7 separate regions of the Homo sapiens genome follow, and all the other regions are linked to region 6. Evidence: promoter capture Hi-C in 16 types of primary human blood cells and fetal thymus (Javierre and others, 2016). All regions are on one chromosome and are shown on one strand. Each heading gives the region's core, a stretch centred on a gene start or on the middle of the fragment in contact. The rest is flanking DNA. Distances are from core to core; before and after follow the strand shown. Region 1 overlaps KIF5C (kinesin family member 5C). Region 2 overlaps KIF5C (kinesin family member 5C). Region 3 overlaps KIF5C (kinesin family member 5C). Region 4 overlaps KIF5C (kinesin family member 5C). Region 5 overlaps KIF5C (kinesin family member 5C). Region 6 holds the start of ORC4 (origin recognition complex subunit 4). Region 7 overlaps KIF5C (kinesin family member 5C).

Region 1 (2,831 bases), core at 202-2,701, 940 kb after region 6:
TTTTTCTTATTGATTTAAAGCAGTTATTTTGGGTAAGTCCTTTGTCAGGTATATGTATTTTATATATCTTCTCCCACCTTGTAACTTGCCTTTTAACTGTCTTAATGGTGGCTTCTAATGAAGACAAGTTTTTAATTTTAATGAAGTCAAATTTATTTTTTCTTTTATGTTCTATTTAAGAAATCTTTGGCCAGGCATGGTGGCTCATGCCTGCAATCCCAGCACTTTGGGAGGTTGAGGTAGGCGGATCACCAGAGGTCAGGATTTTGAGACCAGCCTGGCCAACATGGTGAAACCCTGTCTCTACTAAAAATACAAAAAAATTAGCTGGGCGTGGTGGCGGGCGCCTGTAGTCCCAGCTACTCGGGAGGCTGAGGCAGGAGAATCACTTGAACCCGGGAGGCAGAGGTTGCAGTGAGCCGAGATTGTGCCACTGCACTCCAGCCTGGGCAACAGAGTGAGACTCTGTCTCAAAAAAAAAAAAACTTTGCCTACCCCAAGGTCTTGAAGATACTGTCCTATATTTTCTGTGGAAGCTTTATTGTTTTACTTTTCACATTTATGTCTGGGATCTCTCTGGAACAGAATTTTTTACATGGTATTGGGGGTGAGGAATAAAGTTCCACTTCCCCTCAGTGCCATGTATTGAAAGGACTGCCCTTTCCACTCTTCTCTATGGACACTTTTGTCATAAGTCAGATGACTGTCATCTGAGTGCCTGTTTCTGGACAATTTATTCTGTTTTTATTCCAAGATTTCTGACAATTTGATCAGTTTTACTTTATAAGAAAGTGATGATGTTCAATCCTCTAACTTTGATCTTCAGAACTGTCCTTGCTATTCTTTTTTTTTTCATTTCTATTATAAATTTCAGAATCAGCTTGCCAATTTCTATACACATACACAAACCCCTTAGGGTTTTTTTGGGGGAAGGTGGGGATTACTTTAATTCTCTAGAGCAATTTTAGGAGAATTAACATCTTTCTCTCTCAGTGTAAGCTGATTTTTTCATATTCTACCTTTAGTGGATGTGAAGGCCCCGCTTGCCCCATTTGGGCTGAATGAAGTCTCGGGCTCCAGTGTGAGACACAGATTCCCACTGTTATTTGAGTTCCAAATGGAAGTTGGGTTGCGCATCTTTAGCTACTCCTCTGGATCTTTTCTGCACCATCTCTGTCCTGCTTTGTGACTTAGGAGGGTGACTGGTTTGGGCTCATGCAATGGGCTCCTTTTCCTCTGGCTTCCAGTTATGTTACACCCGTGGGGAAGGAACACAGGCAGGCGATCAGAAGGAGAGAAGAGCGTGAGGTCCGGGTATTTATTTCCTGGCTTCTTCCCTGCCAGATCATTTTGGGTTGGCTGTGTCCCTACCAATGGCTGTGACAATTCATACCTACCAGGCAATCTTTTCCTTCTAGCCTTCTCTCTCTGGCTCCCCTTCAGCTTAAGGGTAGTAATGGCTCCCCAGTCCCTAATGTGGGTACCACATTAACCCTTGTTATTTCCCAACACCTTTCCAAACCTTTGTTAAGCACTCTTCAAATCATGCAATTTGAGCAGGTGGTCTGTTTCCTTCCAGGACCCCGATTACTACAGAAGTGGGGATTTCCTAGGCAATTGTTAAAAGTATTTTGAGAATGAGGACCAGTTACACCAATGGTGATAACCTTGCTGAGTCTGCTCACAAAATATGCCTCTGGCTAAACCTGCCTGAGTATAGCATAGAGGCTTTAGCTTTCTCTTTCTGGTATCATGTGAAGTTATCAAGGGACTCTTTATGATTTAAAAAGTAAGATTAGTAGCCTTGAAGTGTGCCCTTAAGTGTCCATAAGCATTTTAGCCATGAGTTATTTTTCACTTTTTGCCTTACTAAGTTGATAATGGATGCTTGTAATGTTTGTGCTTGCATCTGAGAAGCATCCACAGTACTGCCTGAGGATGTCAGGAGGAGAGGTGAGAGTGTCAAACAGGACCAGACTTTAAAGTAGTAATAAAATTGCTGTTATTTGAAAAATTAGACTCAAAGCACTTCTAGGGATTGCAGCCTCAAGCTACAGTGAACAAGAGAGAGTTATCCTAATTCTTAAATGGAGTCTTACATTGAAGTTGTTAAACTCCTCTTTTGACAGTTGGGTTATTTAGTTGTCTGCTTTAGCAATGAATTTTTGGAATGACATCTGTAGTGCTGGTGAGGACTGCTGAATTTCTTGCACTGAAATAGAAATCAGGATGTCATTTGCTGACAACGGTAATTAACCCGAATCACAAATCAGATTGTGCTGGCAAATATGACGGTGTAAGAACTGTTGGAAGTTCAAAATGAAAAAGTCAATAGCAAATAAAACAGGATATCACATATTTTTTAATGAAGCTTTACCTTCTTGAAAGTAAGCCTAAGTGGAGTTTCCTTTTTAATTGGACAAGGCCACTTAGGTGTTCGTTTCTGTGCATGCTGAGCTGAGTCATGGCTTTTGTTTTTGGTATCACTTGGTGCAGCTACTGATTTGCTCTCCACAGTTGCCCCTTTGGGTTACTCTCCAGGTACATCCCTGTGGCATCTCAACCCCCCAGGCCATGTGCCCCAGAGATCGCATCATCTCTTATACTGGAAGTGGCAAAATGGTGGCCATTAGGCATGTTTGTTTGTCCCACACATTGTTTTTATAAATAGTTTAAAACTGGGAGACACAAATTAAAGAAAAAACAGTTTCTGATTTTTCTTGGAAAATAGGATGATCTGAATACTGTGGGGCCTCCTCACCGCATGGTGATGACGGGCTGTGATGGGGGGGGCGGGTGTGTGCTCAGCAGGGAGCCATGGTGTCCTCTGG
Region 2 (3,048 bases), core at 497-2,996, 980 kb after region 6:
CACCTCCTGACTCTAGTTGGTCACCAGAGCCGGTCCATTTCACCTGCCAGAGGCCCCTCTGGTTCACTGTCCAGGTTAACTAAGGACTGTGGCTACATCCATCTACCCATGCCCACCCTCAGTCTGCTCTGGGCCAGCCACTGTGTGGCATCCTGAGGGATGATTCTAAAATTCACATTCTCTCTCTGTCCAAACGGACACTTCTAACCCTTCCATGGCATCCTGTTGCTCTTAATATAAAGTTTGAACTGCCGTGGCTTCCCTGGCACCCCCTTGAACAAGCTCTACCCTTTGCCAGCCAGCCTTGTGATCTCCTGAGCTTAGGGAAGTGCCTCGCACATAGGAAGCACTTCATAAATATTAATGAATATAAGCAGAAATTCAAGAGAAGGGTCTAGAAATGCAGAAAGTAGAACAGGATTAAGAATGTATGTGCCATGCAATGTGAAACTAGAACATATATATTATGGGTTGCAATGAAAATTGTTAGAATTTTCTCAGAAAGCCATTTGAAAATACATATTAATAACTGTAACATTTTTCATACCTTTTGATCATCACACCTCAGATATTCATTGCAGAATTTTAGATCAGCAAAAAAGAGGAAGCCATCTAAATGTCTAATAGTTAATACACTATGGCGTGTTATTTAATAGAACTTTTTCTTCACATGAAATACATGAAGGTGTGCAGCAATGTTTATGATGCAATGTTAGGTGAAAATCACAATATATCATTGTATTCTTACTATGGTTATAACTATTAAAAATGAATGGATGCAGCTGGGCACGGTGGCTCACGCCTGTAATCCCAGCACTTTGCGAGGCTGAGGCGGGCGGATCACGAGGTCAGGAGTTCGAGACCAGCCTGGCCAACATGGTGAAACCCTGTCTCTACTAAAAATACAAAAATTAGCAGGGTGTGGTGGCACACGCCTGTAATCCCAGCTACTCAGGAGGCTGAGGAAGGAGAATTGCTTGAATCCAGGAGGCGGAGGTTGTAATGAGCCGATATCGTGGCACTGCACTCCAGCCTGGGCGACAGAACAAGACTCCATCTTGAAAAAAAAGTGAATGGATGCTTGTGTTCCTAAAAATTCATATTTAAGATAAAAGTGGTTGTGATAGGGTAGTTGGGATTGGTGATGCTGTTATCAGTATTTATATCCTTTATTGTTGTTTTACAGTTTGCTCAGTAAATGCAATTTGTGTCAGACGCCAAGGCAAATTTAAAAAGAAAGAACATACCCACTCTCTGCTCTAACCTTGTAACATGTTCTTTGTGTGGTAACACATGGCATGTTAGGAGTAGGTGCACCATCAAAACTGCACATGGAAAATCATGTTTCTCTCTTGCATCCGGTGGTTCCTGCAGTGGGGCCACTGAGTTGAAATAAAATAGAGGCAAGAAAACCTGAAGTGGAACAGACTAGAGAGAAATAATGAATTGAATGTCACTGTCGTAAAGCACTCTGCCCCCTGGCACCCCAGCTCCCCAGCTGGGGCTGCCCATTGCACCTGGCTGGCATTTAGGGAGCACCATCGACCAAGCATATGCTGAGACAGGAGTGCCACACTGCAGCCCTGCCCCAAACATGGGGCCTTCTGGTTTAATCTCAAAAATGTTATGCTATCTTTCTGTTTCCCGTGTTCCCATCCTGGAAACAGAGTATGTTTTCCTGCCCCAGATTCTTAGAGAATAAACGCCTACCCATGGGAGGTAAATTAGGTCTTCCTAGAACTCCCATCATGGCATGGGTCCACAGGCCACCTAACAGTCACAGAGGGCTTTATCATCTGTAAGGCCCGTTCATGCACATGACCTTGGGCTGCTCACAGAGACCAGGTGGGAAACAAGCCCTCCCAGGTGTGCGGTGACATAAAGCCAGAGTGCAGTCCTAGGAGGGCCGCCCCCAGTGAGCATTGTCCCCCAGTAAGCATTGTCCCCTGCAGTTGTCGCGCTCCCCCGTGGAAGGAATGCTTCAGGAGGGGGCAGCCTTGGCTTTAGCCAGAAGTCCTTGCCTGTTCCTTTATGCCATGGTTGTAATTGCTGATATAAGCTGATGTTTCACTCTGTTGCCATTTTTCTTGCTTTTTGTTTTTTAATTTTTGCTTTTGGGTGTGAGTCCCACCAGTTAAGTCTTAAATCATCATTTAAAATTCAAAACAGAAAAAATGCACGAAGTCAGCTTCCAGGATAAGGAGAAGGAACATCTGACGCGGTTGCAGGATGCTGAAGAAATGAAGGTGTGTGTGGCTGCCCCTTCCATCAAGCCCAGTGTGCATTTGATGCATTTGGATTGGAAATGCTTGTTCTAGGAAAATCTGTCACCTTCAGATCCGTATATGGCAAGGGACAGGGGAGGGGCTGTTGTTGGGCATTCAGAGTCGATCTCAGAGTATAGCCTGGCTTAGAAATGAACAAGTCCAGAAACCCCAAGATGTCTGTAGAGAATGGTTAAGTTGCGTTAATACCTTTGTCTTCACCATTCCTGATGAAGAGGGAAAGGGTAGCACCCCCAATCACTGCATGGGCTCTTTTGTCGGAGTTAACTTCTAAGGATTTCTTCCTCCAACCTTTACGCAGAACACACCAAATTTGAGTTTCTATCTCAAACATAGAGATTTTTCTTTTGGTCACATTTTAAACTGTAAAGGAAAATTGATTGTGGAGTAAGACTTTTAGGTGAATAAAATGAGACAGGAGAAGATGTAGGATTTTGATTAGTTGTAGGCAAACTATGAGCCTCATTGAGTCAAGGTCCACAGTTAAAGACGTCCACGGCATGCCCTTGCTCCAGCCAGCAGAATAAAATCATGCGTCGTGGGAGTCCCTTTCCTGTTTTCAGAGTGCTGTTGCCAAAAGGTCTCCTTTGGACATCATCATAAATCTGTGCAGTGGGCAGGGCAGGGGCTTTTATCTCAGTTTTACATGTGAGGGAGTGCAGCTCACACAGGTTACAGGCTTATCTGGAGGTTACGTGGATAGGGAGAGGTTGGTGCCCTCTGACTGACCTGGCTGGAGAAGCTCAGGCTGGGCTGTAAAAGG
Region 3 (2,850 bases), core at 52-2,551, 920 kb after region 6:
TATCTGTAAAGAGCATATAGGCATTTATTCAGGCTCCTTATATTTAATATTCATCTGGTTTTAAAAATTGACATTTACTTTCTTCAATTGTATCTTTCCTTTATGACATTATTATTTAATATTGTTCACATTTAAAGAGATTTTGATATTGAGTGCAACTGTTTTTACTTTGCAGTAACGCCTATTATAGCATTATCTGTGGAACATCAAAGTAGCTAATATTGGTGGCCATGATCATAAATAAATAAAGATAGAAGGCAAAGCAAAACTTCATCCATTTCTTCTTCTCTCATTGATTTTCTTCTTTGATTTTCTGTCTTCTTAAAGTGTTGCTGTTCAGTATGAATATGTACTCAAAAACCTAGGAAAATTTGACAGTTCTTTTTTTGGTTTACGTCTATATTTCCTAGGGCTTGCTCAGACTTCTCTTTAATGTAGAATTCAAGCCCTGGGCAAGGAGGAAAAGTTGTTGGATCGATATTTCAGCCTTTCTATTTATCTGCACCTCTAGAAGATAAACAGGAAAATGTTTCAGCCTTTCAAAATATTGTTGCTTTTCAACTCTTTCAGTGGTGAACCTGAACTGATTCTCTTCCAGGGGTGCACTGAGCGGTTTGTGTCGAGCCCTGAGGAAGTCATGGATGTAATAGATGAAGGCAAAGCAAACCGACACGTGGCTGTGACAAGTAAGCATGGTGGGGGTGTTTCCTCCCCTGCAGCTTGGGAGACAGATATCTGCCCACCAACCGAGGGGGGTGGGGAATTAGGTACAAATGAAAGAATGCATGGGAAGGTGATTAAAGAGCAGTGCTCGGACACAGACGCCAGGGTATGTGTGCTATGAGTATGTCTAGGCAGTCATGGGAAAGGGTGCCTTCTGCTGTCCACAGGACTCTGAGGTCTTGGAGATATTGGGTGAGACTTACTGGACCCTGATAACAGCCTAAGCCTGAACATTAGGAAAAATAAACAACCAGCCAACCAAAGGGAGGGAAAGAGTAAGCTCATCAGTTTATTTATTTTGATCATGTTATTGTTCAGGTTAAAAAAAAGTTCCAAACCAACAAATTCTATAATATGTTGCAGTCACACACATGGAAATAAACCATGTTGGATTTCTGCCTTCTGTAAAAAAGAAAAAGAAAGGGAAGAAGGAAGTCAGAAAGCAGAGCCAGGAGCTTTAGGGAAAGCCTTCCGATATGTTACTAGCAGACACATTCAGATCGGCTCATTGGCTCTGCAGTTCCTTCCTCAGTATGTTCATTGCATCTCAGGGAAGCAGTGCATATGGGATTTGGGCAGCAGAGGATCCGTGAAAAAAGACAGTTGTCTATCTTATTAAGAGGGATGTGGACAAATGACAGTGAGTTCATATGAACAGAAGCTGAGAGAACTAAGGGTTTATAGCTTGCATGAGGGAAAAAAATCTGGAGGAGGGTGTGTGGACAATGTAATATATCTTACCGTGTTGAAGGTGCTGACACTAAGAAAGAGGGTCAGCTTGTTCTGTTCCATCTCAATACTTAGAATACCCATGATTGTTGGAGCTCTAGGGAGGCAGATTTCGACCCCTGTGAGGAGAACTCTCCAACCCTTATAGCTGCCCCAAGTGCTGCCTGCTACCTAGAGAGGTAGTGAGTTCACTGTTATGTTGTAAAAGAGATTCAGGCATTGGTTTCCTGACTGGTCTAGGCTCTTTAAGTCTCTTCTACCCAAGACTCTCTGATTCTGTGGTCCAGAACTGTAATTCTCAACATTTTCTCTATCTGAGCAATGTATCAGATGATATTCATGTATATAGCAACTTTCATAGGTGAGCCTATTCCTGGATGAAATGTTGGTCAAGCTCCACTTCTTTTTCTCTTGCTTAAAACATGCACACATACCTGAAAGAATGTAAGACAGATATTCTTATAGTAGTAGCATCTCTCATTTACGTTATTCACTCTGTTTCTGAAGCTGTTTTTAATCACAAATTATTTATGGCATACCTGATAATCCATTTTGATGCCTTGGTTTGGAACTGCTAATCTAAAAAAAAATTGCTATTATTCTTATCATTCTGGTAAGGTTTTTCTTTATTATTGCAATAAAATATACTTAATATGAAATTTGCCATCTTAACCATTTTAAAGTGTGCATTTATGTGATGTTAAGTACCTTCACAATGTGTGCAATGTCACCACCTTCCATCTCTAGAACTTTATCTTCTCCAACCAAAACTCTGTACCCAATAAACACCAATTCTTTATTCTCCTCTTGCTCAACCTACTTTATCTCTATGAATTTGACTGCTCTAGGTACCTCATGTAAGTGGAATCATAAAGTGTTTGTCCTTTTGTGACTTATTTCACTTAGCATAATGTCTTCAAGTTTCATCCATGTGGTAGCAAGTGTCCTTCCTTTTTAAGGCTGAACAATATTCCATTGTATGTATATACAACATTTAAAAAATTCGTTTAACCATTAATGGACGCTTGGGTGGCTTCCACATTTTGGCAGTTGTGAATAATGCTGTTATGAACATAGGTGTGCAAACATCTATTTGAGTCCTTGATTTCAATTCTTTTGAGTATATATGCAGAAGTGGAATTTTCGGATCTCATGGTAATTCTACTTTCAATTTCTTGAGGAACCGCTACTATTTGCTATTATTACGATTTTCTATAGCAGCTGTACCATTTTCTATTCCTAACAGCAGTACATCAGAGTTTCCATTTCTCTATATCCTTGCCACTTGTTATTGTTATTATTTTTATAATAGCCATCCAAATGGTGTGAAGTGCTGTTTCATTGTGGTTTTGATTTGCATTTCCCTAATGATTAGTGATGTTCAGCATCTTTTCATGT
Region 4 (2,987 bases), core at 377-2,876, 960 kb after region 6:
ACTCCATTTCTCTCCTCTTGTGGTTTATATCACTTGTAGTGCTTGTCCATTTGTCCCAGGAGAAGAGATGGTGGCTCTCCGATGGTAAATTCTTTGAATCCTTTATGCTAAGTTGTCTAATATTTAAGTGCTCAGGAACATAAACACAAAATCGTTACTGGTAACTGACGTGCTAAGTTTATAAAGTAGAAGAGAAAATATATCTACAAAATAGTCTTCTAGTTGTAGAAGTGCCAGTTTTTGGAGGTTTCATTCTGGTATAATTTCCCTAATATGATTTGTGCAGGAAAATAGAACCATTAAAGAAACATTGGTGTAAAGGGTTCAGTAGAAACAGGATCTCTTTAAGTAGAAAAGCAAAGCCAAATGATGGTCTACATAAAGGACAAGGAGATTCAGATCCTGTATGGCTGATTTTAGAATTTTCTTTCTCCATGGAAAGCATTAGTTTGTGACATTAAATTAACATGATTCAAATGTATGCATAGATATCACCAAACAGGCTGGGGAATATCCCGTGGAACATTGAGGTTCTGTGACCCAGGCCCTTAAGTTTGGGTTAGATTTCACCCCTGGAAAAGGCAAAAGGCACAGTACAGGGTGTGTTTTTCTGGGCTGCTGATGAAAACACCTAGACAGGACCTGGCACGAAGAAGTGCCCAAGGATGCTCAATTGAATCTGACTCTGTTTGGTGTTTAGACCCTAGAAGCCAGGTTGTCATCTTCACAGGCTATGTTTCAAATTTTATTTGAAGTCGTGAAAATAATGCAGTGAAGACTGTGTTTTTTATGTAGTTAGGCATCATCTGCCTGCTGCTTTGCCTGCACTGGGGGTGGACTGAGTCTAAGGGGAGGTGGGGAGAGGTGGGCAGCGAATACCCTTGCTTTTGTGGCAGCAACACCTAGTGGCAGAAAAAGAGTGAGAAGAGCGAATTTGCCTTTCCCACTTCAGTGACAGCCCAGAAAGTAAGCATGAATGCTTCTGTCCCTCAGCTGCCCTGAGGTTTTTTTTTTTTTTTTTTTTTTTTTTTTAACTGTTAAGAAAATTAACTTCCAATCGAGAGGGAGGTCTTCCAATGCCAAATCTCCAGTTCATTTTTCTCTGGTCTGAGAGGTTTGAAGTGGAAACATTGGCTCTCCCTGCCGATCTGGTGGCAGCACTCCTGCTTACTGATGCATTTGACAAGATTTGGGATAATAACATATGACAGTGCAGCTAGGTAGAAATTCACTCCTTTATTTTTTGAATTAGGAATTTCACTGTTAGCATCTTTGAATTGGGAGGGATATCTCTAACGTCCCTTTCAGTTCCCAAACCGTAGATCTCTGATTTCTCAATGAGCAGGAATTGGGTTGAATGTGCAGGATATTATATTTCCAGAATAGTCAGCTGTTTCATCTGCTGAGAAAGGTGGGTGAGGAGGTATTTTAACTGAATGAGATCTCGGAATCTGTCTGTTTTCTGTGCAGTAACACCACACTATTCCTTCCTTCTTATCAGCAAGCTTATGGTAGCTGCCTGTCACTGGGAGACTGGGATATCAAAAATGACATAACTAACCAAAAAAACAAACATGATGTTTCGTTTCAGGATGATGAAATTAACCAGCAGAGCCAGCTGGCTGAAAAGCTGAAGCAACAGATGTTGGATCAGGATGAGGTAAAGAATGCAATATATTTTTTTTTCCACAAAGTTCTTCTATTACTCTTTGTTGTTGATGTTTGTTCCAGGAATTTAATTGGCATAGAAGCTTTTCATAATTACAGAATCATGTGGAAATTTCTTGGTAGATGTCCCTTCACTGCCTCTTACAAGCTGATTATCACTGAATTTAGAAAATAAATGTCTGACTTTCAAAAACCCCTGATGTTTTGAGATTGAGTAGCCAGTGGCTACAGTTCGTTCTGGAAGGGCAGAGACCTTTGGTTGGGTGATCAAGCAAGGATGATCCTTTTTTATTTTTATTTTTTTGAGACAGGGTCTCTCTGTTGTCCAGGCTGGAATGCAGTGGTGCAATCATGGCTCACTGCAACCTCCAGAGCTCAAATGATCTTCCCGCCTAAGACTCTCAAGTAGCTAAGACTACAAGAATGTGCCACCATACCTAGCTAATTTTTTAATATTTTGAGACAGAGTTTCTCTATGTTGGTCAGGGTGATCTTGAACTCCCGGCCTCTGGCTTGGCTCCTGCCTTGGCTCCCAAAGCACTGGGATTACAGGTGTGAGCCACTGCACCTGGCCTTGGGCAAGGATGATTCTGCCTCCTAATACCCAGCAATGCTGTGACCTGTTGTTTGAGTCCTACTTCAGTTTTGCAATCAGCTTGCTCAGATCTTTGATATACACCATGTTCTCCTGCTGTCCTGTAGGGATACACAAACAAAAACAAAACTAGAAGGTAGAGGAGGGGAAGGCAAAGAGAACGGGGCCCGAGTACTGCGTCAGCATGTTTGATACACTAAAAAGGAGGCAAATTGTTTTCAGTCTCTCCCCAAAGGCATTCAGTTCTTCAGCAAGTGTTTTTACTACATTGTGTGTTGCCAAGTATTTTACAAACAAGAACCTAAGCAAAGGATAGCCAGCCAACTTATCAAACATGCACAATTAATAATTCCCTTGCTGAGGACCGTTTAAGTGTTGTTTTCTTTTGTGCTTTAAGTTGCTTTCTGCTTCGTTGCTGAAATGCTATGGATTGGATCCCACTGTGCAATGACAGCAGGTGCCTGGGTTTCTGTCCTCAATCCCAGGCCTCTGTAGGCATAAAGGACTCTGTAACCATTTCCTTCCTCTTTGTTCCCTTTCATCTCTTTAGGACAATGATTACCTCCCCTGCCCAAACACTTCCCTTGGTAGGGAGATAATCTACACTTTTGTAATCAGGTGAACCATATTTCGTTGATCTCTCTCTCTTAGCTATAGTCGAGGCCTTCCATTTGCTTGAGTTTCCTGCCCTCTACCTCCCATTCTACTCCAGTTTCACCCACAT
Region 5 (2,700 bases), core at 120-2,619, 990 kb after region 6:
GCCTGGGCTTTGTTTGTCTTTTTAACCAAGTACTCCAGGTGATTCTGATATTCATCGAAGTTTGAAAACTCTCCATGGTTTATACAGGATGGCGGTTTACGTCTGTCTTATGTAAGGGAAATTTGAAGGTGGTACATCAGTAGTTAAGAATCTCCACAGTGAAAACAGAAACCTAGCCTCTTAACTAGGTTAAGCACGTGCCTGCCTCCTGAACTCAAGGCCAGCTCAAGGTCACCAAATGACTTCAGTTTCAGCCATCATGCCTACATTCCAACTTTAGCAACCAGAGAGGAAGCAGAGAAGAGGCAAAAGCAGCCGTCCTGAATGAATCTCCTTTAAGTAGCCTTCCTGAAGCCCCATGCAATGCTGATGCCTCCCTTTCCCTGGACAGCACTGAGCCACATGGCCACATCTAGCTGGAAAAGGTAGTCTTTTAGCTGGGCACATCACTACCCCAAAGAAAGGTAATGCTTTTAGAGCAAGGACAGGGAGAGTGGATGTTGAGGTGGGCAGCTGGCATACTGTGCATTATGGACCACCTAATATGCTGCAGCACTGGGCTAGATGTAATATAGGCATCACCTCATTTGATGAAAGCACACATAGAGGTGTATGTGTGTTTCCCAGCAAGGCCTTACTAAATATACTGGTCCAGGGATTCTGGGGTCCAGAGATTGTGCAGTGGGACAGTCACCTTCTTCATGGGTTCCAACAAAGGTCTGCCAGTCCCATATTTTATGTAGGCTCCAAACAACCAAATGCTGGCCATTCATCACCAGTGTAGCCTCTTCTCATACAGAAGAGTGAAAATCAGTAGGTCTGGGGAGACTTTCAAGACCTTCGGAGTGAAAGAACCACCCTCACCCATTGTGGCATTTTTTTTTAATTTTACTTTAAGTTCTGGGATACATGTGCTCAATGTCCAGGTTTGTCACATAAGTATACATGTGCCATGATGGTTTGCTGCACCCATCAACCCATCATCATCTTTTCGAGATGGAGTTTCACTCTTGTTGCCCAGGCTGGAGTGCAATGGCATGATCTTGGCTCACTGCATCCTCTGCCTCCTGGGTTCAAACGATTCTCCTGCCTCAGCCTCCCGAGTAGCTGGGATTACAGGCATGTGCCACCATGCCCAGCTAGTTTTTGTATTTTTAGTAGAGACAGGGTTTCACCATGTTGGCCAGGCTGGTCTTGAACTCCTAACTTCAAGTGATTCCCCCCACCTCAGCTTCCCAAAGTGCTGGGATTACAAGCGTGAGCTACTGCACCCAGCTGGCAATTTGTTTCTTTACTCAAAGTGTTACAAGTGGTTTTGATGGTTTTATCTGAATTCAGAGCCTCCTTGACATACCTTCTCCACACAGCTTCAGACACAGCTTCTGTAACTAGGTGCTTCTCTCACCAGGTTACAAAATAAACAGGCCCCCTCTTACAGCTCTCAGGATGGCAGTGTGGCTGAGGGGACTGGCATTGGACAAGGGACCTGGGTTCAGGTGTTAGGTCTTCCACTTCCTTCAAGTTACTTAAACTCAGGTCTGTTTCCTCATATATGAAATGGGGAAAATCTTTTATGTTGGTCATTGGCATTGACAGAAGGCTTAAATGAGGTCATGCTTCTAAGCCCATAACAATTGCTCAATAAAAATGTTAGCTGCTAGTATAGATGAGCACTGCAGAAGGTGGTAGTTGATACATGTTGGTTTATAGTGTCCTTTAATTCATATAGTTGTTACTAAATGGTTTTTAGTTCCTCTATAGCAATAAATCCTGGCGACTGGATAGGGAAGGCCTATTTCTAACTGAGTATCCTAGTTGTTGCTATGAACTGACATAAGGGCTTTTAAAGATAATATTGGCCGGGCATGGCGGGTCATGCCTGTAATCCCAGCACTTTGGGAAGCTGAGGTGGGCAGATCACTTTAGGTCAGGAGTTCAAGACCAGCCTGGCCAACATGGTGAAACATCCTTCCCTACTAAAAATAGAAAAATTAGCTGGGCGTAGACATGCACACCTGTAACCCTAGCTACTTGGGAGGTTGAAGTGGAGAATTGCTTGAACCCAGGAGGCAGAGGTTGCAGTGAGCCGAGATTGTGCCACTGCACTCCAGCCTAGGTGACAAAGTGAGAGCCTATCTAAAAAACATATATATATAATTTACTTATCTACAAGCTATGACTATTTTTAAGAAATGACTGGGCATTTGTCAGTGGAGATTAAAAAGGGGTAGTAATCAACAGATTCAGGAATTGCAATTGAAAAGTAAAGAAATGCTAAATCCTTTTTGAAAAGTAATTGAAAATATGGAATTCATTGCTTAGATGAGAGCAAAGCCTTTTTGAGACAGTCTTTCCTGACCTTTGGGATTTTCATTCTGAAGTATCTCTTCCCTGGGTAGAAATGATCTCAATTGTGTCTTCCCAGCCCTCCTGTGGAGTCAAAGCACATATTCTTACAGCTGGATATCTTTGGAATTTCCTTCTGCTTCATTTCAGGGTTCAAGAATTATAGCCATAATGAGTATTTTGGTTTATTCTCAAGGTTTCAGAGCCTATGAAGATGCCAATATACAAAAATCAAAAGAACCCAGGATAATGCTGGCTTTGATCTTATCTGGTTCAAATCCACAGGGGGCTGCCTCAGGAGGAGATGATCTTTTTCAAACCCCAGAGCTACATATGGGGCAGTGCAGTGCAACC
Region 6 (2,700 bases), core at 31-2,530:
TGGCACATGCCTGTAGTTTCAGCTACTCGGGAGGGTGAGGCAGGAGAACTGCTTGAACCCAGGAGACAGAGGTTGCAGTGAGCCGAGATCGCGCCACTGCACTCGTCTGGGAGACAGAGCGAGACTCCGTCTCAAAACAAAAAACAAACAAAAAGAACCCACCCAACAGAATTAAGTACCAACATAATAAATACGAAGAATTTTAGATTCTTGGTTTTTAAAAAACATACAAAGATGATATTCCTTCAAAATATCTTTACAAAACATATTGAGACTGTGATGCTTTATATTGATTGTATGAAAACAATGAAAAAGAACCAGCACTGTTTCACTATAAAAGCTTTACTAATGTAAATTTATAAATCCTTTCTTAAATATTTTGAGTTAATTCTAATTTTATGATAGAAATTCATTATTTTCAGCAAAAACAGCTGGCATTTGGGAAACCAAAGGCTCAAAAACTAAGAATAGTAACCAAAGAAACTTGACAAAACAGTCCTTTTAAAACTCTCATCTACACTATAAGGGGAAACTTTGATCACGTCCCTTCTCCTTCATCAATCGTAGAACTCAACATTAAGGACTACACAATCCCACATCCCTCTCCGAGAAAAAGCAAAGGCTTTGTGTTGTAGCAACAACGCAAGACATGGAGGGAAGCTCCACTCAAGACTTCCCTGCCTGCTCCTTCCCCAAAGCCACTCCAGAATACCAGGGAGGGTTGAGAGGTAAGGCATGAAGGGCGCAATATCCAATATGAGCAACGCGTGTGATGCATCTGGTCAAAATGCATACAGAGGACTTGTCTCTGTCCCTAGATAGAAGTCCTCCGTCCTGCAGTCATGAGGGTCAATTGCTGAGGCTTCACAGTTCCCTTCTCTCTTACACTCGGACCGTCACGCTCCTCACCTACTACCCCGATGCAGAGGTAGACTCAGGATCCCTGCACTTGTCAAGGATTCCTCGGCAAGCTCACGGGGCGGGAGTGGCCACAAGACGGAGCTCGCCTGGTCCTGGCCTTCCCGGCCTATACAAGCCTGCCCCCTTCCCAATTCCCAATCTCCACAGCCTTCCATCCTCCCACTTTCGATTCACCTTGCGCCACCGACGCCCCTGGCCTTCGTTTGCAGCAAGTTTACCCCCACCATTACCTCTCGCATAAAAGCCTGCATTTACCAGGTCAAAGAGGGGAACCAACGCCTGCAGGAATCGCTTCACCGAATCGCCTGGCCGCGTCCTCTGCTAGACTTCACCTGCCGCTGCGGACCGTACACAACCACTCCCGGCATGCCCCGCGCACGCACTACCTCTCCCACCCCGCCCCTCTCCCGCCCAAACACGTGACCTCCTTTCGTCTCCGTCCACGCCCACTTCCGTTCCTCCACTTTCCCTTAGGAAGGAGGAGGGAGCTGGGGGTGTTAAAAGCGTAGCGACTTCCTCCTCCTCCCCGCCCCCGCTCCTGTACCTCCCGCTACAATGTCTTCCGGGTCGCTAGCGCCTCGACGCCTTCTGGGAAAATAGCTCATTTCCTCCCCTCCCCCTCCTCCTGCCTTCAACCAACCAGCCACCCGTCAGAGAGGGACATGCGCAGTGAGTGCCTCCCGTCTCTTCTACCCGAACCCCCCCTCCCCCCCAAGCAGAGAGACCCCAGCAGCAGCAGCAGCTGATGATGAAGAGAGAGGCAGTGGCAGAGGGGGGGCACCTTTTATTTCTATTTTTAAAGGGACAGGACACTAATTCTACCCCACTTCAACCTTGAATTCAGGGGGGTGGGGGGAAGGCGGCTGAGTTCCTTCCCCCACCCTCCAGCCCTGAGCCCTGAGAGGGGGATTGAGCCTGAGAGAGGAGAAGGAGTTTCTTCTTCTTCGAAAACCCCCATCCACGACTCCTACCCCCTCACCCCTCCAACTCGCCTCCCTCCCTCCACCCTCCTCCTCTTTGGCCGTGAGAGGAGGAGAGAAAGAAACCAAAAGCCTCTTAGCAACACAGACCCTTTGCTGCTGCTGTTGCTGCTGCTGCTGCTGTTGCTGCTGCTGCTGCTACTGCTGCTGCTGCTACTGCTGCTGCTTGGCCCTGGCTGGAGACATCTCACTACACCCAGGAGCAGCCACTTCCCCAGCTCTCCTCCTCCTCCTTCGCCTCCTCCTCCTCCACTCCCCCCCTTTATTACCCTTTGTGTCATCCTCCACAGCTCCAGGGAAGGCACTCAAAAGTGGGGGGCAGGAAAGGTAAGTGTGTCTGTGGGGGCTTCATTGCCTTCCTCTGGCTCTGACTTTCACTCCGGGGCAACAGTAGCACCAAACCACATACGCAGTGGAGCTCCGGGGTGAGGAGGGGGTGGTGCTGGGGGGGGTGAAGGAGGGGTTGGAGTAGGGAGGGGTGTGTGAGGTGGGGTGCCCATCCTGTCAGGGGAGGAAGGGCACTTTTATTTTTATTTGCTGTTGTCAAAAGTGGTTTCTCTCCTCCATCTAACATCTGATTGTGTCTTGCTCCAGTGGGGGAGAATACAAAAACAACCCCCTCCTTCCTCCAATGAGGCGCCAGGGAAAGAGACAGAAAGAGGCACACTTTCTAGATGTCACTTAAAAAAAATTCATTGGAGAGCTCTTTTTCTCCAGGAAAAGCTCCACTGCATTTGTTTCTGAGTGGGAAAATGTCGGGATCTGGATTGTATTGGAACTGCTTATCCATTTGTAGACC
Region 7 (2,848 bases), core at 85-2,584, 900 kb after region 6:
ATAGGGGATTTGTTTTAAATTAAGCAAAGCTACATTTTTGTTCCAGAAAGTTCAATTGATAACAAATACCCAGACAAACTCTGCAAATATTTACTCTTACCTTTTACCTTACTGACATTTAGTTGAATTTTACAAATAGATAAAGCTTAATAAGCATGTAGTAGGCTGATAGTTGGCAATAGACTGTGGTGAGGAATAGTCTATTGGTTATTCAACCAAATCCTTGATTCACTAACTGAAGGAAACTTACTGCAAACAAAACATCAGAAAATGTTCTATTTCTATAATTTTAGCAGAATGACTCTGGTTCTGCTGCTTTGCATCAAAACAAAATTTTATAGTAACTGAAAATTCCCTATTTCTCTAAGACCAAATGGAAGTAGCTCCTTTACCTGGCTGGTGCTATCCAGTTTTCAAAGAGTAAAGCTTAAGGGCTAGGATTTTATCTCCAGTTCAGCTCTACCCAAGTAATAAATAAGTAGAACATTAAGCCATTCTGACAGCTGTGTACTTACTTTGTGTGAAGGTTATAGGATGTAACAAGCCTTGCTCTTGGATCCCTCATGAGCAATTATCTTTTCGAGGAGTCCCACTGTCCTTGGGTGGTTCCTGGTGTCCAGAGCCACACATAGGAGGGGCACAGTGGGAGAAAAGGAGGCTCTTGGCTCTGCTCTCTCCTCCCTCTCATCTTCTGCCCTCCCCTCTGCTATGTGGGGAACATGAAGATGAAGGGCCTCCTGAGTGAGTCCGGCTGTGGAAGAGGGTGAGCATGATTGCCTCCTGCCTGGGCGGTGGTGGTAGAGAAGAGGTGCCCTCAGGATGGGTTCTCCTAGGGAAGGGGCTGTGTCTGTCCCACCCACCACTTCCCCAGCACTCAGCACTGTGCCTGGCACCTAAATGCCCAGTAACTCCTTATTAAGCATACAGTGATTGGGCGTCAGGGCACATATAATGCACGGTGGAGTTTCTTCCCTTACCTCTACTAGTTATTTCCTTGAAACACACACATTTGAGCATCAAACCAAATCCCAAGACCACACACCTGGGGAAATCTCTTGATTTACTCTACAGAAGGGCTCTCTTTGTCTTGGAAGCCTCAACCCAGTTAAAACATCACTTGTGCATGAGAAAGAAAACACAGGAATTCTTTTGGACACAAAGCAATAATATCTTTCTAATAAGAGCAGCTACTTAAATCTGTTTGTCCCATCTTCCCATTGGCTAACATTTAAGCACATCACCTTGGCTAACTGTGCCCTGCATGAATTGGCTCCTGATTTTCTTGCCCTCCAGTTCCTTGAACAAACCAGGCCCTTTGCTGTCTGCTGGGCTTCTGCCTAGGATGCGCTTCTACAGCTCTTCAGGAGCCTCCATCTTCCCGATCCTGTAAAGATACACTTAAGTGGTCCTTCTTCACCAGGCTTTCCTTGCCCTCTCTAGCATTCCCTCTGTCCCACTGTTTTAAACCTAGGCATTTTGCGTTTTCCTATGTGTTTGCTTTCTTGCTTATTAGCTATCTGCTCAACTTAATTGAATGATTCACAAGAGCAAGACTGTTTTGTGATTTTTTTTTTCAGCATCTAGCCCAGTGCCAGGCTCTGTGTAAGTGCTCAGTAAATATTTGTTTGAATGAATGAATGAGTCTCAACCTACCCTTCATTTAAAAAGTGGTTCAATTTAAATTTTTTTAAAATCTCAGATTCTCAACATACAGTGCACATATACACAATGCATGTGTGGTTTATGCTGTAAAAATTCCCTGCTCTTGGTAATGAACTGCCTTAAAGAACAGGGTTGGTGACTTAGTGCCTATGGCCTAGCTACTAATGTTTGCGATTTTTTATTCCTAAACATCTAATGTGTTTTTTCCACCTTTTTCTTCCCTTTGTCTTTCTTTTTTAGCAAGGGAAGCCATATGTCTTCGACAGAGTGCTACCTCCCAACACGACCCAAGAGCAGGTTTACAATGCATGTGCGAAGCAAATTGTCAAAGGTAAGTGCTATTTCTTTATTTCCTCCTGGGCCATTCAGAGTAATTGAAAGCATTAAGTGATATTTGCAGCCTAGGAATCAATGTGCCTTGACTGTAAGCAGAGGCCTGCTAATTGGAAACACTGAATTCTATAGCCTCGGTTCTAGCCCTGATTTGCTATGATGTCAGGCAAATTATTTAATCTCTCTATTCTCCCTTTTCAAGGACATGTCTTTATTTCTTTTGCCACCTTTTTTATTTTGTCACCCAAAAGCTTAAAAGCAAGGTAAGCTGTGTTCACACTATTTCTGTAATAATTTTAAAACACTGGCTGCAGGTATGGAACCTCCTTTTTCCTTTGAAGGAGAAAATATATATTCCTGATGCTCCAGTTGTACATCTTTGGTTGATTTATTCTGTGTGTCTGTCTCCCTTTTACTAATATCTCTCAGCAAGAAGCCTTAAATATGGAAAATTTTTGCCATTTAGAAATTTTCTACAGTGTCATAAAATCACATTACCGTGTTGGTTATTGAGCTGGTCTTGCCATTCAGCATTCCTTAATTATGCTTTCTCCTAACCCATTTTCAACCATCCCACCCAGATCCTGACATTTATTCCTCCAAACAGGTAGCCTCAAGCCTACATTTACATCTTAGAGATCAGTCCTTTTCTCTAGGACTGGCATTGGCCCTGGAGGATTCATGTCAAAATAGCAGCAGGGAGATGAAGCAATTTGCACATTGCTCTACCTTGTCCTTTCAAATCAGGGGCAGGTTGAAGCTTGCATTGGCAGGCTTGCCATCTGGACAGAGCTGGGGGGCATCTCCTGCTACTTTGCTTTTCATCATCAAATCATTTCCTTCAAATGTGAAT

The links. The method cuts DNA at HindIII sites, captures the fragments that hold promoters and counts their contacts. A CHiCAGO score of 5 or more calls a contact.
Region 1: a contact is called between a fragment that was not itself captured here and the fragment with the promoter of ORC4 in region 6, in 2 of 17 cell types (naive CD4 T cells and naive CD8 T cells). The highest score is 7.1, in naive CD4 T cells.
Region 2: a fragment that was not itself captured here is called in contact with the fragment with the promoter of ORC4 in region 6 in 3 of 17 cell types (total CD8 T cells, total B cells and monocytes); the score reaches 6.8 in total CD8 T cells.
Region 3: a fragment that was not itself captured here is called in contact with the fragment with the promoter of ORC4 in region 6 in 1 of 17 cell types (naive CD8 T cells); the score reaches 7.7 in naive CD8 T cells.
Region 4: a fragment that was not itself captured here is called in contact with the fragment with the promoter of ORC4 in region 6 in 4 of 17 cell types (total CD8 T cells, naive CD8 T cells, total B cells and 1 more); the score reaches 7.3 in total CD8 T cells.
Region 5: a contact is called between a fragment that was not itself captured here and the fragment with the promoter of ORC4 in region 6, in 1 of 17 cell types (total CD4 T cells). The highest score is 5.8, in total CD4 T cells.
Region 7: a fragment that was not itself captured here is called in contact with the fragment with the promoter of ORC4 in region 6 in 1 of 17 cell types (total CD4 T cells); the score reaches 5.6 in total CD4 T cells.

What each region holds. Positions count from the first base shown.
Region 1 is chr2:148,958,512-148,961,342 of GRCh38, forward strand. All of the region lies in intron 10 of KIF5C (kinesin family member 5C), which reads left to right. Among named protein-coding and RNA genes, the nearest start is that of KIF5C-AS1, 65 kb to the left of the region's middle. The HindIII fragment of the contact is 1,835 bases long and covers 535-2,369 here.
Region 2 is chr2:148,995,095-148,998,142 of GRCh38, forward strand. KIF5C (kinesin family member 5C) reads left to right here. Exons shown (of 26, transcript NM_004522.3): 18 at 2,170-2,246. Among named protein-coding and RNA genes, the nearest start is that of LYPD6B, 42 kb to the right of the region's middle. The HindIII fragment of the contact is 5,790 bases long and covers 1-3,048 here.
Region 3 is chr2:148,942,075-148,944,924 of GRCh38, forward strand. KIF5C (kinesin family member 5C) reads left to right here. Exons shown (of 26, transcript NM_004522.3): 7 at 599-686. Among named protein-coding and RNA genes, the nearest start is that of KIF5C-AS1, 48 kb to the left of the region's middle. The HindIII fragment of the contact is 3,693 bases long and covers 1-2,850 here.
Region 4 is chr2:148,977,331-148,980,317 of GRCh38, forward strand. It overlaps KIF5C (kinesin family member 5C), which reads left to right. Exons shown (of 26, transcript NM_004522.3): 13 at 1,592-1,660. Among named protein-coding and RNA genes, the nearest start is that of LYPD6B, 60 kb to the right of the region's middle. The HindIII fragment of the contact is 246 bases long and covers 1,504-1,749 here.
Region 5 is chr2:149,013,049-149,015,748 of GRCh38, forward strand. All of the region lies in intron 25 of KIF5C (kinesin family member 5C), which reads left to right. Among named protein-coding and RNA genes, the nearest start is that of LYPD6B, 24 kb to the right of the region's middle. The HindIII fragment of the contact is 4,420 bases long and covers 1-2,700 here.
Region 6 is chr2:148,019,457-148,022,156 of GRCh38, forward strand. ORC4 (origin recognition complex subunit 4) reads right to left here and starts at 1,281. Exons shown (of 14, transcript NM_181741.4): 1 at 1,177-1,281. It overlaps MBD5 (methyl-CpG binding domain protein 5), which reads left to right and starts at 1,635. Exons shown (of 14, transcript NM_001378120.1): 1 at 1,635-2,228. RefSeq lists enhancers at 926-1,523, 1,703-1,802 and a silencer at 1,193-1,352. The HindIII fragment of the contact is 3,631 bases long and covers 339-2,700 here.
Region 7 is chr2:148,920,235-148,923,082 of GRCh38, forward strand. KIF5C (kinesin family member 5C) reads left to right here. Exons shown (of 26, transcript NM_004522.3): 2 at 1,903-1,993. The region is part of intron 1 of LOC101928553 (a long non-coding RNA gene); the gene reads right to left. Among named protein-coding and RNA genes, the nearest start is that of KIF5C-AS1, 27 kb to the left of the region's middle. The HindIII fragment of the contact is 1,820 bases long and covers 425-2,244 here.